Regions from separate parts of the Homo sapiens genome. Here all the other regions are linked to region 1. Evidence: promoter capture Hi-C in 16 types of primary human blood cells and fetal thymus (Javierre and others, 2016). All regions are on one chromosome and are shown on one strand. Each heading gives the region's core, a stretch centred on a gene start or on the middle of the fragment in contact. The rest is flanking DNA. Distances are from core to core; before and after follow the strand shown.

Region 1 (2,508 bases), core at 4-2,503:
GCAGCAGCCTCTCTACTTGGCTTTAAGTGCTGCAGGGAGCTTATTCACTCTTGCATCCTCATCTCTTAGCACAATGCCTGGCATAATGTCAGTGCTCAGCAAGTGTTAATAATACGTCCTGTCCTTCCAATGTCCAGTAGTTATTTCAGTAACTAAATCCTCTTTTTTAAAACCACCTTATGCAAAGTTAATCCTCTGTGGTTCAAAAAGTTCCAAGACAACTTAAAAGACAAATTTTCCATTACTTTGTCATCTCATCTGTCGAATTCATCTGTAATTTGTCTAATTCAGCATCTCCCACTGTGTGTGTTCCCATGAGTTGGACTCCAAGAGATGCTCTTGGTAAGCGTATCTATGTGGGAAACATGTTACTCAATCTAGCAAGGCAGCCAGTGCAGTGGTTTAGCACACAGGTGCTGGGGGCAAACTGCAGGCTCTGTCGGGCAAGTGATCATTCTGTGTGCTTCTGTTTCCTCTTCTGTAAAATAGGACTAATAACAGTTTTTCTCCCTCACAGGGTTGTTGCCAAGATTTGCTGAGTATTACACAAAAGGTTTGGAGTACTTAGTGCTAGGAACATACTGACTACTATTATTAAGCAAAGTTAAACAATTTCTTTTTCTTATTTGGTTTTATTTTGTTTGCTGGCTGTAAGACTGCTGAGAGCCTTTAGCATGCTGATGTACCCATGAATCTCCAGGGAAGCAGTATTCCCCACATTTACTTGATGGAAGAGCTGCTAGCATATCTCAGGGGTAATGGGCCTCAAAACATACCTTAGGAAATTCCTATTTATAAATTTAAAAGAACGTTAACATTTTCCAAACCCAAATTGGGACACTGATTTGACCTGTATGGCTATAACTTGGGAGCATTGGTACATAATATTAATATTTGAAGAGAGGACTGGTCTAGCAACACAAGTAAATAATAATAATAATAATAAAAGCCCAAGACCTATGTGTTACTACAATTAAAATATTTCTTTTTTTAAAAAATCAAAGTACAAGTGAAGTGACTTTTATTGATATTAAAGTGGGAACTGCAAATATGGCCCAAATAAAAAACCATGTAGGCTTTACGTATTATTTTCTGACACAGTTAAAAAACTATTACTTGACAAAGATGAAGGGCCAGACTTCCTTATTCAAAACCTCACGCCATTTATCTTAATTCTGCTGCATCTGATACTGACTTCCTCTAGAGCCAGGAAACTTTGCAAGTATTAAATAGCGTGAACGAAGGAGGGAAAGAAGGAAGTAACCCACCAAAGTGAAAAAGAGGAACAAGTTCTAACCCAATGCAGGTTTAAAACATAACCAAAAGAACAAAAGAGAGAGCTTGACACACCAATCTTGAGGTAAGTAAGAACCTGATTTAAGGTATTTGGATGATTAAACACTATAAGAAACAAGTTTGTCTTTAATTAATCAATGATTTTTATCTTACTACAGTTTTTAGAAAAAAATGCCTTACGTAGCTGTAAGGGGGAAACCCAATTTACAAACTGAGAGTGATGTTAATGTTTCTTTACAATATGATTATGCTTTGCTGTTACCTTGTTTCCAAACAGCAGGGCATTCTCTTACTTGAAAATTCCTGAAGTTTCTCAACAATTTGCGATTTTAAGAAAAATGTCAAATTGTTAGGTAACCTGTTGGAACTGCTTTCCAAAATGAAAACAGAGTCTTCTTTCAAACTGGTCAAAGTGAACATTATTTAAGTGTTAAACTATATTTGAATGGTTATTGTTTAAAATATGTTTTTCATTATAGTAGGTCTTTGTTCATGTCTCACAGGTTTTTTCCTCTAATGTTATTTCGAAGAAAATGATGCATTTCTTTTTCTGTAAAAAGTCTTCTTGTCTTTATCTTGGTAAATATCTCTTAGACAAACAATTTTAATATTTTGGATGTACCAGAATTTCTACTCTACATAGAATAACATAGATGGTAAAAATGCCTTTTCTTCTTAAAAATTAAGAGAGTAATTTATTGCCTTATCCTCAGCTACAGAAGTGACAATAGTTAGCCTTCCTCAACCCTCACCGTGACTTCTGTTGCAGGCCTAGTATCTTTCAAAAAGTTGATTAATTTCAATCAATACTTAAAGTGTATTTTGTAAATTTATTTCAAATATTCTGGCAAATAACTTCTTAAATCATTAACCATGTATACCATAAAATATCTTGCAGATAATTGGTGCTCATCTGTTTCAGACAGGAAATGAGGTCCTAATGATTAAAGTCATTTGGCTAAACTTTTGTCCTTGAACACAAGCACGGCTGGCCTTATAAAGGAGGGACCCTGCAGATTGTAAATCTTATGTGGCGGACCATACAGTTCTCAACCTCAATATTACTCCCAAAAATTCCAAGGAGATTAAAATGTTTCTGCATCTGGGGTGCTTGTCCCTGTATTTTTATCAAAAAATTGTATAAATTAGCTGCACATCTTATTTAATTTTCTTTTATGAAATGTCAAATTAAATATTTGCATATTAATATAT
Region 2 (2,508 bases), core at 6-2,505, 970 kb before region 1:
ACAGCAACTGAAGACAATGTTTTAAAAAATTTTTTTTAATATAATCTCTGCCATTTCTGGTTTTCATTCAAATGGAAAGGGGGTTTCTCTCTGAGGGATTTCATTAGAAAGAGAAGGAAGAGCTCCTCTTTCCAAGCCTCACCCTGTTAATTTCCAGTTCCTTAAAATTCAGAGAACTCTGGCTTGTTGTGTCTTTGTTTCTGGGTCTCAGAATCTTGGTGGTAAAAGACAGCCTGGTTTACTGTTGAAGAGAACGGGAGGGTTAGGGAGTTTGAGAGGCACATCCCTCAGTTCTCAAGCAAAGCCTTCTGAAGAGTGACTGAATGCTTCTCACTTAGTTTTTATTTATAAGTCTAAATGGATGAATGCGTGGAGTGAACCCTTCCATTTGTTTTAAGAATTGATCCATAAAGCACAACTAACTAGCTCATTTTTTTTCTGACTTGTCTGCCGGGAAAGTGCTGATCTGAGTCTGCTCTTCTTATTTTCCTTAACCCATAAAAAATGTCAAATGAAATGGATACATAGCTATGATTTCATTTCCATTATGCATTCATTACAGTTGAGATAAGGTGGAAACTTGGGGCTTATTTATTCTAGAGTCTGTCGCAGATCATATCTCACCCTCTGCTCCCCACCTCATAGTAATCTCAGTGCAGCTCTGTGTAGTACATGTCAGTGGGCTGTGTACTCCAATGACCCAGAGGACATCACATACATAGATGTCATTGTGGATAGTTTGATAAAGATTTCTAAATGGCAAATATCTAGGTAAAAAAAAGCAAGAGCAAGACAAATAAATGAAAAAGAACAAAAACAAAACAGTCCAGAGAACCATAAACTATTAATGTACATTGTACTTAGGCAAAAGACTGTGTTCTAGTTTTAGATTTACTTTGGCCTTTTTTTTAGCCCTACTTCTGCTTCCTTTACCAAAGTAATTTACTTTACCAAAGCTATTCTCAGACTTTCGGATAACCTAGTCATTGGATTTTATAGACTATTCCTGAATATGCTTTCCAAGGAATGTCTTTAAATAGAAGACAGGTGTTATGTAGTCAACACATATGGAGCTGGGCTGTATTAGGCACCTGCTTTGTGTGATCCTAAGCCTGGTGTACCCATCAGGACAGTGACTCCAAAGGTGGAAACTCTCACCAGATTCAGATGGTCCTCAATAAACTCTGGACCTCAGACAGACACCAGCTTTATTGAAAAGTTAATGTAAATTCATTTTTATGTATTAAAGAGATATACGATATGATTTGGATATTTGTTCCCTACAAATTTCATGTTGAAATATGATCCCCAGTGTTGGAGGTGGGGCTACGGGGAGGTGTTTGGGTCATGCGGACAGATCCTTCAGGAAGGGCTTGGTGCCTTCCCTGTAGTAATAACTGAGTTATTGCTTTATTAGTTCACACAAGAGCTGGTTGTTTCAAGAGAGCCTGGAACCTCCTCTCCCCTTCTCTCTTGCTCCCTCTCTTAGCATATGACACACTTGCTTCTCCTTCACCTTCCACCATGAGTGAACACTTCCTGAGGCCTCATGAGAAGCAGATGCTGGAACTATGCTGTCTGTACAGCCTGCACAACAGTGAGCCAGATAAGCCTCTTTTCTTTATAAATTTCCCAGTCTCAGGTATTCCTGTATAGAAATGCAAAATGGACGAATGCAATATATTTACATGTGTATTTATGTAAATACTATATATATATACACATTTTAAATGTACATTTAATCTCCCCATACAGCAAATTTAAATCCTAATATATGAGTATGATTTAAAGCCATTGGTTTTCATACCATGTACCACCATGTCCAACTGAGTGGCTTTATGGGCTGAGGGAGACCTGAAAAGGTGGATTTCATGGCTCTTTTCCATAGTAGATTAGATCCTCTTTTGTCTGTTTATACTGGGCCTGTAAATGAGGTTTGGTTGGAAGAGTTCTTTAGCTCAAAATTTAAAAACCACTGATGTAAAAGGTCATTCTGGCATGAACCACCAATCTCTTCTACCTAGGACATTGATGAAAGCCTTCTTCCTAGAATGGTTAGGGTTAAGAGCACACTTTTGATTCTAGTTCTGATACTGGTCCTGATTCTCTTCTTGTGTTGCACTCTCTCTTGCTAACTGCCCTTTGTGATGGCACAAGTTCTCTGCACTTGAGAAACTTCTCTAATAACTGAAGGATAAACTGGATGTTTTCTAAAATGTTTTCCAAAGCCACAGTTTTCCTTTATGCAAAAAGTCTGTAATAGAAATAGACTGTCATCAAACAACAAATCTGGGGTAATGATTTAATTTGAATTTTTAGTTCGTAGCTTTCTTTTTACTTTCTGGCACCCTAGTCTTTTGTTAAGACTATCTTTACATTGAATTACATTCCCTTTCTGAATATGAAAATACTAAATGGCAATTCTAGAACTGTTGGACAATACAGAATATCATAATAGACCACTCTTAGAGTTTATTTTGATGTTATCTTTTTGTCTTCTTGGTATTA
Region 3 (2,508 bases), core at 3-2,502, 940 kb before region 1:
TCACATAGCCTGAAAATATTTTACCATTGTTCTGACTTCAAAGGACTTGACTAATAGGAATACACAACTCGATATTACCCGTTCATTGTGATTCTTAATTTGCAAATAATAATAAATGGAATCTAGGACAGTATCCTCAGTCTGCTTTAGTATGTTCAAGATTAAAGGGGAAAGTTTCCTAAAGTTAATCTTCCAATTCTCAGTGAAAAGAACATTAAAAATAGAGAAAAAGGCCTTTGGGTCAAATGAGTTTTGTGTTTGGCACTGACATAGAGAAACCTGTGAATACATTAAAAGTAGAAGGCACATAAACCCAGTCTACCTGAATTAAAGACATGAATACCAAAAGGCTTTCCTTGGAGATCAGATGCTATGGGTTGAATTGTGTCCCTTCTGTCAAATTCATATTTTGAAGACATATTCCCCAATACGTCAGAATGTGACCTTATTTGGAGATAGGGTCTTTACTGAAGTAGTCAAGTTAAAATGAGGTCATTAGGGTGGGCCTTAATCCAATACGTACGTTATATTTATGATTGGAGAAAACTTGGATGCAGGCACACAGGGAGAATACCATGTGAAGATCAAGGCAGACAGAAACTGGAGTGATGCCTCTATAAGCCAAGGAACACCAAGACCAGCACACAATGAGAAGATAGGGGAGAGGCATAGAATAGATTCTTCCTCACAGCCCTCAGAAAGAACAAACCCTGGTGTCACCTCGATTTTGAATTTCTAGCTTCTAGAAGGGTGAGAGAATAATTTTCTGTTGCGTAAGCCACCCAATTTGTGGTACCTTGTTACGGCGGCCCTAGCAAACTAATACACCAGGAAAGGAGTTAAACCTTGAGATTCTACTTACAGGGGCCAGTGTTATGACTGAAAAGACCACTACTCCCCAGACCTGGGCAAATAAAACTGAAGAAGGAATAGTCTATGGAGTTGTTTCAAATGATGTTCTCATTTAGTGATGTCTGAAATACAGTCTTGCCTATTTACCTCAACTACAGAAAGAAAACTAAGTAAAATTGAGGAGAATGAGCTTTCATTTCACACATCAAAAAATGTGTTTTCTGATTTCCCAGTGAAATTTAGGCTGACTAAAAAAAAAAAAAAGAATTCCTCATGATATTGTCACTCTAATTTTTCTAGGTCACTAGAGCACGGAAAAAAATCTGACTGCTCCACACCTGAATTATACCAGTTTGCATAAACTAATAAAATTACAACTTAACTACTATCGTGAGGAGTTATCCTGTTCGTTATGGTGACAGAAGCTGGGCATGAAGAAGGGAAAATGCTGCCAATCCCCCGGAAAGCCATTAATGTTACTCTGCCAGGGGATCTAAAGGTGTGGGAGAGGATTTTAAATATAGCACCCATCTTAACCACTGTGAATAAGCAACACTACTATAGGTAATAAGAAGAAGCCAACCTTAGACATATGGCTGGGCCTTAAAGGGACGCAGCTGAGAAAACATAGCCCTCGTCAGGTACTTTAATAGGAGGAGTTTAATATGCTAAATTCATAATAAAGGTGTTATTAGAAGAGCTATAACCACTCAAAGATGGGGTCGATGGGAGAAAGGGAGGTGGTAGTGTTTCTAGAGCCTGCGATCTTGGGTAATAAGGATAGGAATTGAGACCACTGAAGAGATATAACAACTGCTGGGCATGGTCCAGAGCAGGAGAGGGGAACTAGCACCCTTGCTTCTGTCTTCCTTCCAGCCTCCAGTGTCTTTCCAGCACTTGTTATGGCAGCCCTAGCAAACTAATACACCAGGATAGGAGTTAGACTTTGGGTAAACCCTTCCCTTAGGATGGCTGGAGGGAGCATACCCCACCCTGGCGTTCCCACTCATCACAGGTCAGCCAGAAGCATTGCTGAGCAGAACTGAAGGCAAGTGGCAAGGAGGTGTGGGAAACATGGTTTGCTGGTGTCGGCTCCTTGGATGATGGAGGCAGGGGAGGAGTATTAGTTTCCTTTTGCTGCTGTAACAAATTACCACAGACTTAATGGCTAAAATCAGCACAGAGTTATTTCCTTATAGTTCTGGAGGTTAGAAGTCTACAATCAAGGTGTTGGCAATGCTGCATTTCTTCCAGAGGCTTCTAAGGAAAATCTGTTTTCTCACCTATGCCAGCTTCTAGAGTCTGTCTGCCTTTCTGGGCTCACTGCCCCTTCCTTCATCTTCAAGATGCATCTCTTTAACTCAGTTTCATGGGCACATCTCCTTTTTTGACTTTGACTCTCTTACCTCTCTCTTGTGATTACATTGGACCCACTAAAATAATCAGGAGAATCTTTCCATTCAAGATTTTGTTTTTATTATACTTTAAGTTGTAGGGTACATGTGCACAATGTGCAGGTTTGTTACATATGTATACATGTGCCGTGTTTGTTTGCTGCACCCATTAACTCATCATTTACATTAGGTGTTTCTCCTAATGCCAACCCAAATGTCCATCAGTGATAGACTGGATTAAGAAAATGTGGCACATATTCTC
Region 4 (2,508 bases), core at 4-2,503, 900 kb before region 1:
ACCATTTTAGATTTTCTTCTATGCTAGTTTTATGTAAACAATGAGTATAAGTGGACATATGTTATCTTTTTGTTTTGCATGAATGATTTGAAGCTTTCATATCTGAATTCAAAAATTGTTCAGACATCAAATCATTTCTAAGTAATGGAGTAACTACGGGGGTCCCTCCACCTGGGTGATGAGCGGCTGTTTTTAAAAGGGTAAATGTCATCTAAACTGCCCTTTCCCTCTCTCTGCCCTTCATGAATCCCTAATCCTGACTCTGACACTTCTCTTCCATGGCACATCTAACAAAATGCAGATTATTTTCTAAATGTTGCACCTGAGTGGAAACTGCGTGTACACACTGGTTAAATTTAACCAATGTCTGGGTCAGCACACTTTGATTGCGTGTGTGCTGAGCAGAATGTTGGGGTATGTTGGATAAGGAAAGAGCTTATTCCATTAGTATTTTAGTAAGATCACACAGCTTATTTTATCTTATTTTATTTTATTTTTTATTTGATTTTATTTTACACCTGTGCTACAATTATTAGTGCAGTAGGCTGGCCTACCCCTCAGGAATATTGAGGACATCTGACTGTTAATTTCTATATGAAGAGAAAAAGAGGTGGCTCTGCATAAGATTATCCTAAAGTTCAGTAATCAAGTGCCCTGGGGATGCTCTTCTGTCCTCTTAGTCACTGCTCGCTCCCTCAAGCACCTGTTGTTTTTGTGTTCCCACTGAACTCTAAGTTCTAAAAAATCTGGGATCCCCCCAGCTTAGAGTATCTTTTCCAAGACTTTACTTCCCTTCTCACTCCTTGGCTTCTTAAAATTTGTCTCTTTCTGGCATTATTCCCTCCCCATATATTAGTCCCCTGGACTATAGCCTAGAAGCCTAATTATAAGGATCTAGTGGGTGTAGAATCATGGGATACTAGAGTTGGAAGAAACATCAGAGATTATTCTAGCCCAGCCACTGAACAGATGAGAATTAGTCTTGGAGATATAAGGTGAATTGCCATGCTGGATCTTCACGCCAGGACGCCTCCGTTGAACCAGTTTATGTTAATCTTTCCATATTGAAAATGCCTTTATTTGCATTTTAACTGGGCCTTCAAGTGCTTAGACCAGTGTTTCCTAAACTTGGCTAATCATTGAAATCACCCCCATCATGGTTCTGATTCTCTAAGCCTGAGCTGGGAATAGGAAACTATACTATTAACAGGCGCAGGTAATTGTAATAATTAGCATATGTTGGAAAACTGCATTAAACGCAATGGCTGACTTAGTAGCATTGTAAATTCCAGCTACTAAGTAAGGCTAATGGACTGTGTAGTTTTAGGCAATTGAGTTTTTCTAGCTCAAATCAGTCCACTCAAGGAGGCCGGTGTTGATTGTAAAGCAGAAGGAACTCTCCCTTATTGAAAACCGGAAGTGCAGAAACAGTCCTTCAAACTCAGAAGACTCAAAATTAGTATTTGTTGACATAGAAAATATTAACATAATCATGAAACTCGGTGAAAAATAAATGTCTTTCTGGGTGGCAGTAGAATCCCTGATAAAGAAGGGCCTATCTTTGTTTAGGACCATAAACTGGTAAAGGCATTTCAGAGAGAAGGAGACAAGGAAACTAGAGAGATTGCTAAATCACTCTCCATTAGAAAAGAATGGGAATTTGAGTCTGGGGAAGAACAGAGCAAAGAGGAGAGGAGAGAAGAGGAAGAGGAAGAGGAAGAGGAAAAGACTAAACAATATAGTGACATGACAACAACCATATTGGACATCGTGCTTTATGTTTCATCTTTGGTTGTTTGTGTTGCTGCAGTATTAACACTTTTTTCCTCCTCAGACCTTTAGCAAAGTCAGCTTCATCCACAAAGGCATTGTATTGCTTTTTTGGACAAGAAATAAGATGTACATCTAAATTCATATATGCAGAACCATCACAAAACATGTAGGACTGCAAGTAGATCAAACCAATTCAATGAGAGAAAGAGCTTGGATTGAGGGTATACATGGATTACAAGGTTTCCAGCATCCTGTGTATACAGACCATGCCCTTGTATTTTATGTTTTTTGTCCTGAAGCATGTGTTGACTTTGTCAGGACGCCCTAAACATCTTAGATTCAGCCTTTTCCCAATGAAAGGCAAAACTCCTCTGTCAAACTATTTTTTCAAATTTAACTAGATGTCCTGTATTTTTATTTACTACATCTGGCCACCCTACCAGAGAACCACAAGTGCCCTAGCAAATTTACAGAAATCTTGGCAAGGGCATTGGACTTTCCACAAGTTGTGAATGGGGTTTCAGAAAATCTTATCTAGATTATCTAGGGTGGGACGATTTCAGCTGACGTTGAGGTTGCAATGAAAACTGACCTGTCAAATCCAGTGTCTTCCAACCTTGACTCACAGTAGAGTCATCTGGAAGCTTATAAAAAAATCACGTCAAGACCCCATTGTCAGGATTCTGGTTCATATATGCTGGTATGGGGCCAAGTCTCAGTATTGTTAAAGTTTAC
Region 5 (2,508 bases), core at 4-2,503, 860 kb before region 1:
GCTGATGAAATAGAACCTGGGTATCACAGGAATGCTATGGAAGCCAATGTAAACCACACAGCCAACTCCTCTGGGAATGACTTATATTACTGCTTGGGCCAATTTTAAAGAAAATCCTGTGTCAGCACTTTCTGTGATGGTCACTGGGCCTTGCAGAGCTGCCTCATTTGGAACAGACTGCTTCAGGGTATATTAATGTCAGGACACACTGCTTCTCATTATAGCTCCCACCAATCCAGGTGCCAAGGCCAAGATATACTAGAACGTGAATACAGGGCCCACTTGGCAAGAAATACATGTTGTCAGAGCAGAGGTCTAAGACTACACTGTCTTTGGGTGAGAATGGGTGGTCTGACTTGAATGGGACTTGAATGGGACTTGGCATCACTACATGCAAAGTTATTAACTACCTGGAGCCATAAGTGGGAATATGATGTGTTTGATAACAAATATGTTAAAATGTACCATTTGTTTTTATGTATAATTTTTTAAGGTCCATTTCCTGATTTTTTTTTTCTTTAAATAAATGAAATGGAAAGCTTTTCACTCAAGGATAACTTCAACCTTTCTAAACATGATTCTTGTCCATTTCATATCTGGTCTTTATTATCAGGCCAATCACCCATGCATTATGAACCCATGAAATTATGAAGGCAGGTCATGAATATACTCTGATGTTCATGGACATTGGGTTTATAAAATCTCACTTATCTCCTCCTGCATGGTTACCACTATGATCTTAGCACAGCTCCACCCCAATTTCTTTGCTATTATGACTTAAATTTGAAAATGCCTCTGGCTTGAGTGTTGTCCTAGATATGTGGATCTGAGGCATCTATACAAGTGGGGTGCCCAGCTGGAAAGTGTAGCCATATACTTTCAGTTCAGGAAAGAGATCTGAGCTGAAAATATGAAATTGAGATTAATCAGCACTAGATAGTTATTGAGAGTATTGAAGTAAACGAGGCAACCTAGGGCCTGAGTATAATGAGAAGGGTGTCTGAGGAAACTTTGAGAAACATTTAAAGGACTTAGCATGAGAAGATTGAAGGTCATCCTGAGAAAGGTCTCTCTGTTTCTTCCTAATGAGATGTACACTGAGAGCTGTTCTTCTGCTTGCTTTGTTAATGTGGCATTGACGACTTTTACCTCCTTTGTCCTTAACCACAGCTTTAGATTGAGTCATGTTGAATTTGTCAATAACTCTTGTTGACATATTTTTTTAGTCTATAGATAGACAGTTTTCTCTTTACTGGCCAATTCAGTCATTTGACTGGACTTCAACTAGTATTTTTTGAGATCTTCCTTAGAGGTTTGTAGTCAGTAGCAGTTAAAAGGACTTTAAATGTGAAAGTTTAAATTTGTCATATGAGAAAACCTGTGGTCCTCAACCAGGGGTGATTTTGCCCTGCATGGGACATTTGTCCAGGCCTGAGACATTTTTTATTTTCGCCACTGTTTATGTGGGGATGCTACTGGCATCTGGTGATGAGAAACCGGGGATGCTGCTAAGTATCTTCCAATGCACAGGATAGCCACCCCCAACAGCAAAGAATTAGCTGGTCTAAAGTGTCAGTAGCGCACAAGAAACCAAGGTGTAAAAAGGTGATACTCAAAGATTTTTAAGCAAGGAAGTTGTATTCCCAGGTTCATATTTTAAAGACCACTCTACTGTAAGGAAAATAGATGGGTGGTAGAGGTGGGAAGGGAGAAGAATGGAAACCAGGTAGGATGCTGTGGTGGTCTCCTAGACAGGAGCTGTTAGTTACCTGAGTTATTGTGGTGGGAGCGAAGATGGAGAGAAGCAGATGGAATCAAAATATGTTTTGGGGGAAGAAATGTTAGGACTTGTCAGTGATTGAATATTAGTATTAAAGCAGGGGAATAAATCATTCTGAACCGTCAAATTTCTGTCTTGAGAATCTAGGGAATGCTTATTTAATGACTTGAGGAAAATGGGCAAGAAGTAAGCTTGGGGGCTGAGTTAAGTTTCAAGTCTATTAAGTTTGAGATCCTGTGTGAATTTCAAATGAAGCAGGCAGCTGGATTTATATGAGTTAGAAAGTCAGAACATTTAGAATGTGGCTGCACACACCATATTTCTATGTTGTCAAAGAAGATATAACATGGTTGAGAGGTACATACCTTGAGTAAGAGCTGGTTTCTAGCTCTGCCACTTACTTGCATAAATCTAAGCAATTTACTACTCCTCTATGAAAATACCAGTTCCCCTGTGAATGAAAGAAATGTATTAAACTAGGTAAGGTTTTTCAACCAATTCATCGCCAGCAATACCTTCTATTAATTTTCTCTCATTGAGCCCATGTTTAAAATTTTTTAATCATCTTAATGTACTACATTCATCATGAAACAATATATTAATTTTATCTGTGCCATCAATGTTTTTTCATTTTAATGTTGGTTCAGATTTTAAAGGCTTGTTAATTATGGCTTATTGGCTATAATAATAAGGGATCCGAGAAATGAAGTTCAAATGCCGACATATGT
Region 6 (2,508 bases), core at 5-2,504, 820 kb before region 1:
TAACCACTACTTGATTACCTTTACTTACTGAATCAGCCTCTTGTGTCTCTCAGCTCCAACATCATAAACCATCATGTTATTTTGATATTAAATAGATCTTCCTTTTTAAAGCGGGGGAAGAGATTAAGATGTTAAGTGAAAAGGAGAACCAACCATACTCCCTTCTTAGGATTAGACCAAAATTCTTCTTATGTCATGTTATCTAATTCCAATATCCAGCAAGCAGCTGGGGAAAATTTATTTGGATATTGTGCATTTTTCCTTTTTTTGGAAGAATAGATTTTGTTCCTCTATTTGATAAAAGACAGAAACTGTACATCTTGAAAATAAAGGCATTGGCATTTTAAAGTGATCAGGAGTTCTTGCAGAATTCCAAACATGCATCTTCTGGAAAAAGAAACCCTGTAAAGATAGAGATAAAACGTAGGTTTTTCATTTGCCCCATACTGTATGCATATGAATGTTTTACTTTTCTGTTTGATCTTTAACTGGTTGGGGAGAGGACCTGTTGTTTTTCTTCCCTATTCCCCAAATCACTTCTCTGCTTTCTCAGTCTCTCATCAGTGTTCATGACACCTCAGACCTGGGCAATTGGATTCTTGCCCAGGGTCCTGCACTTCAGAGGGGTCCATTCTATTCTTCCTCTAGCTTTGCCATTCGTCAAGCGGGGAGGAGTCTGAATGGCAAAAGGGATGCCCCCATCCAGGGTCTGCATCTCTCCCAGCTCCACTTTCAGCATGTGAGACCCCAGGAAGCCCTGAGCTTTCAACCCTAGGCCACAGGGTTGGCTGAGGGGCAGCTATTTGAGAGGATGGGTATATTCATACCTGACTATACCCACAAGTATCCACATGACACCCCTCATATGTAGGACAGTGAGGGAGGGTAGGAAAAACAGAGCATTTGAAAGTGTCTATTTATATTTATATCCTAGGACCCATAAATGTTAGAGGCCTGCCCTGTTTGACAGCTAGTCATAATCCTTTTTTACAGCTGCAGAAATGGAGAAAACTGGGGGACTAGTCTCCAGTTATAGAGAGGCATGGGCCAGAGACACGACTAGAACTCTGGTTATTGCCATGGCCGGCTGCTCCCCTCACTGGAAAATATTTACCAGCTGTAGAGGGCTAAGCTTTTCCTCAGAAGCTTTGCTTCTCTGGAAAAATAAAGAGAAAAATTCTTGCCCCTTACTCTGGAAAAAGGTGCTGTAAAAACTAAAGATATTATAGTGTAATCCTCAGAACACTAATCCTAGAGGTCAGAGAGCAGAAACCTGAATCACAGGTTCTGCTGGCTTGCTCAAATGCCATGTTTAGCATCCAAATTCTCTATAATTGATAGGTCAGTAGTAGCTTAAAGATTATAAGCTTTTGTAAATGGGTGACTAGCTCCTGAAGAAAGCCACAAATTTCACCTGATAATACCCAAGTAAAATAGTTACTGTGAGTTTTAGAAATGTTGCCAGAAATAAATTGAAGAGTTTTATGTCTTGAAATTTGGTGCTGTTAATTTCTTTTCAGCTGTCACTGCTAAATCCCCTGTTAACTGAAACACCTTCCAAAGTTCTCTTTAGGTTAACTCGGTATTCTAGGCAATCTATAACTGGCATCTTCTTGCTCCTGAATCACATTTCAGAGCAGACTTCACACAAAAAAGATGATGATGTTAGGTGATCTTCAGTTAATAGTCCCTTTAAATTTACTATCTTCTTGGTATCTCAGTTTGCTGGTTTCTTGAAGATTTTCTATTTAAAGAATGAGCAAATAATCTAGAATAGCGAAGACATATGCTCTGTGAAATATAGTCTTTGCTTCATCTAAATAGAAATAGCCATGCATTCTGTTCTATGTCTCACTCCCTTGACAAAGTTGGACTAATAAAAATTCAGTTCCAGAGACTATGTATATATCCTGTGCATGTATAGGCAATTAAGCAAATATTTGCCCCAGAAATTATTTATTATTGGAAATCTATATTTACTTAAATGAGCAGATCATAGATACTAGATTCAATAATATCAATTCCACTGGCTTTGTGATCTTATATCACTCGACCTTAGCTGCCTTCAGTTTCTTCATATATAAAATAGTGACTGATAGTCCCTGTCCTATAGTTTTTAAAAAATATCAGATGAGATTCTGTATGTAAAATGCTTATTATAATACCAGGTACAAAGTAAGCCCTCAGTAATTCATAGTTATTTGCTTCAGTAAACAAATCTTTGACACAGAGTGCACTGCTGAAAAATAAGAAGGCTTCTTGGTGACCGCAAGGTTAGGGACTACTGGATTCAATAACATCACATATGTCCTTTGATTCATATGTACATATTTAGGTGCTTAAAGTGGAAAAATTCATAAATCATTATAATTCTCACTGATTCTTTCTGCCTATTTCCAGATGACTTCTTGGCAGTCATTTGCAGACTAAGGTAGCTTTGAAGGTGAAGATTCTTTGTGTTCATTCTCATCCTGATGTAAAAATACTACCTGAGACTGGATAATTTAT
Region 7 (2,508 bases), core at 4-2,503, 780 kb before region 1:
ATTAAATGAAGAAATGACACTCCAACATCTGGACATAAAATAGAATAATCAAAATTAGGGGCACAATGAAAAGAGCTAAGAGATTTCAGAAGCTGAAGATGTAGAGGGATGGGCATAGGGAAATGTTTTGTAGAAGAACTGTTTTTGTGCTGGACCTTGGAAATAGTTTGGTCATGTCAAGATGGGGGAAAGGTACCAATGGAATATGAGTGCTGAGAAACAGGACTGGGGAGTGTAGCTAGTTGGGCTAAAGGATGGTAGGACATAAGCACTGAAAAGGGAAGCTTAAACCAGATTATGGAGAGATTTGGATGCCAAACTAAGAAACATGGATTTTGATTCAGAGATGGTATTTGATAAAATTGTCTTCAAGAGCTAAGTTAGATTTTCCTCTCTATGAGCTGAACTAAAGCAACCTGTCACAGGGTGTGCAGGGGTTATCTGGCACAATTCTGATCCACAGTGATTCTTCTTATGACCTATTTAGCTTGGGAGAGATGTGCCAGGAAGAAATACATTTCTTTCTCTCATTACCCAAGGATAAGTTCTCACTGTGGCAAGACCCCTGGGTTGGGAGATGATTCTACATCATGTTTATTAGGTCCCATTAACACTACACCATATTAGTTGTTATACAAAGCACTTCCAGCAAGGCTGGTTTACAGAAATGTCAAGTCCCTGCTATTATCCACATGAAGACCCTCCTTCCTGGCCCTGCACACAATCACTGCCTTTCTGTGAGTAAGCAGATGCTATGACTGGGCTTTGTGCTATGACTTTCCCTTGCTGGAGCACAACAGCAGATTAGGTTAGCAGTCTTATTGGCCCTGCAGAAGATAAGAATCCAGACACAGACTCATAGTAAAACGCCATAGCGCCCAATTGTCTTTGCCTTGGCTGATTTAAGGCTATTGACCCACTTTGTCCCCATTTTATAGGAACATGAATTTATTGTTGATCTTCCATGTGGACATATGCTTTTCTCTTATAATCAAGGTGACATAAATCCCAAAGAGAGTGAAATTTATTCTTTTAAGAGAAGTTATAGAAATTATAATATAACTTTCCATGAACTAATCTGCAATTCTAATTTGCAGACAGGAAATATTAGATGACATCGTCAGTCTTCCAGCCAAGGGACAATTATTCAATGTTTACTTCAAAGCTTGGTTGACTACAGGCTTTAAACAATTGCACAGCCATCAAACATTCTGTGCTGAGGACTGTGTCCCTTTCTGTCACTATTGATGGATTTCTCTGTCAGCATCAAGATTTGCTTGTGCCAGACCCTAAGGTAGAGGCTGGTAATTTCATGATGACTTCCAGGCCCTGTGTGATATAGTAAGCTTTCAGCAGAGGTAGCTCTTAGGCTGGAGAACTATAGAGTAATGAATATACTTGACATTCAACAAATATTTCTGGGTAACTACCATAAGCCAAACATTTAAGTGCTAAACCATATTGTAATGGCCTATGAAATTTGGATTCCTTTTTAAAGTCAAATATTCACATATAAATACCTTTTTAAACAGAATCATAGATTTAGAAGTGGTTTTAATATTCATGAGACAGCATTCACCACGAGGCATTCCCTGCCTACCCACCTCTCTATCCAATATTGCAGTTCTAGCCTGAGAACTCTCTCTCCAGTCCATATATCCTGGATTTTGTTCAATTCTTCATAGATACCAAGAAATGGCCTTCCTCAAATCTTGCACATTGTTTCTTTTCCTGGAGTGCTCTTGCCTATCTGCCTTCTACCAGCTACACCAGCTAACCCCTATTCTACATTTAGGCTGCAGCTTTACTGCAGCTCCCCTGAGGAAGCATTCCCTGATCTCCCAAGACTCATATCTCTTTAATGTATGTTCTTTGATCCCCTTGTTTTATATTCTTAAATATTTTTTCCTCTTTCAGAACTTTATACACCTATAACAATTTGTTTTAAATCTGCCATCTGCATTAGACTATTATCTCCATGAGAGCAGATGCTTTGCTTGCAGAACTATCTCAGTTATAGCATATAGCAGATTTTCAAAAGCTATTTAATGTTTGGAGAGATCATCTTGCTTAAGCCTCCTTTCACATCAGAACACTGAAGCTCAGAGATGATACACAGCTTTTCCATGGAACATGGTTAGGATCCAAATTGATACTAAATTTCCTGACAGCTAGTCCTATGCCTACACTATTTCAATCATGGTGCCAGAGCAGGCACCTATGGGGCTGTGAAAAATGTTCCTCTGGGTAGGAGAGGTAGCACATGTAGTATTCTGCATATATGTTCTTGCCTTCCAGCCAACCCAAATTTAAAAATAAATATTTTGGCATATTTTCAGATTTACAAAAATTTGTCAGTATGATACAAAGAATGATCATATACTCTTTACCCAGATTCTCTAAGTGTTAACATTTATTTTTTATTTAAACATTTATTTTTTATGTCTATCTACTATCTATCTATCTATCATCTATTTATCTATCTATCTATCTGCTATAGTCTGAATG

The links. Contacts are between HindIII fragments. The CHiCAGO score rates a contact against its expected background, and 5 or more counts as called.
Region 2: a contact is called between a fragment that was not itself captured here and the fragment with the promoter of GAPT in region 1, in 2 of 17 cell types (non-activated CD4 T cells and total CD4 T cells). The highest score is 6.2, in non-activated CD4 T cells.
Region 3: a contact is called between a fragment that was not itself captured here and the fragment with the promoter of GAPT in region 1, in 1 of 17 cell types (naive CD8 T cells). The highest score is 5.2, in naive CD8 T cells.
Region 4: a fragment that was not itself captured here is called in contact with the fragment with the promoter of GAPT in region 1 in 1 of 17 cell types (total CD4 T cells); the score reaches 5.1 in total CD4 T cells.
Region 5: a fragment that was not itself captured here is called in contact with the fragment with the promoter of GAPT in region 1 in 1 of 17 cell types (naive CD4 T cells); the score reaches 5.4 in naive CD4 T cells.
Region 6: a contact is called between a fragment that was not itself captured here and the fragment with the promoter of GAPT in region 1, in 1 of 17 cell types (naive CD4 T cells). The highest score is 6.2, in naive CD4 T cells.
Region 7: a fragment that was not itself captured here is called in contact with the fragment with the promoter of GAPT in region 1 in 1 of 17 cell types (total CD8 T cells); the score reaches 5.3 in total CD8 T cells.

The regions. Positions count from the first base shown.
Region 1 is chr5:58,490,182-58,492,689 of GRCh38, forward strand. GAPT (GRB2 binding adaptor protein, transmembrane) reads left to right here and starts at 1,254. Exons shown (of 3, transcript NM_001304431.2): 1 at 1,254-1,360. The HindIII fragment of the contact is 6,945 bases long and covers 1-2,508 here.
Region 2 is chr5:57,525,016-57,527,523 of GRCh38, forward strand. The region is part of intron 3 of RMEL3 (enriched in melanoma 3); the gene reads left to right. Among named protein-coding and RNA genes, the nearest start is that of ACTBL2, 43 kb to the left of the region's middle. The HindIII fragment of the contact is 5,240 bases long and covers 1-2,508 here.
Region 3 is chr5:57,553,277-57,555,784 of GRCh38, forward strand. No RefSeq gene overlaps it. Among named protein-coding and RNA genes, the nearest start is that of LNCBRM, 16 kb to the right of the region's middle. The HindIII fragment of the contact is 4,979 bases long and covers 1-2,508 here.
Region 4 is chr5:57,590,077-57,592,584 of GRCh38, forward strand. All of the region lies in intron 4 of LNCBRM (lncRNA SMARCA2 (BRM) associated), which reads left to right. All of the region lies in intron 1 of LOC124901182 (a long non-coding RNA gene), which reads right to left. Among named protein-coding and RNA genes, the nearest start is that of LNCBRM, 21 kb to the left of the region's middle. The HindIII fragment of the contact is 2,324 bases long and covers 92-2,415 here.
Region 5 is chr5:57,626,792-57,629,299 of GRCh38, forward strand. No RefSeq gene overlaps it. Among named protein-coding and RNA genes, the nearest start is that of LNCBRM, 58 kb to the left of the region's middle. The HindIII fragment of the contact is 1,432 bases long and covers 538-1,969 here.
Region 6 is chr5:57,667,290-57,669,797 of GRCh38, forward strand. It overlaps LOC101928505 (a long non-coding RNA gene), which reads left to right. Exons shown (of 3, transcript NR_104668.1): 3 at 2,401-2,508. Among named protein-coding and RNA genes, the nearest start is that of LNCBRM, 98 kb to the left of the region's middle. The HindIII fragment of the contact is 221 bases long and covers 1,145-1,365 here.
Region 7 is chr5:57,710,889-57,713,396 of GRCh38, forward strand. No RefSeq gene overlaps it. Among named protein-coding and RNA genes, the nearest start is that of LNCBRM, 140 kb to the left of the region's middle. The HindIII fragment of the contact is 181 bases long and covers 1,164-1,344 here.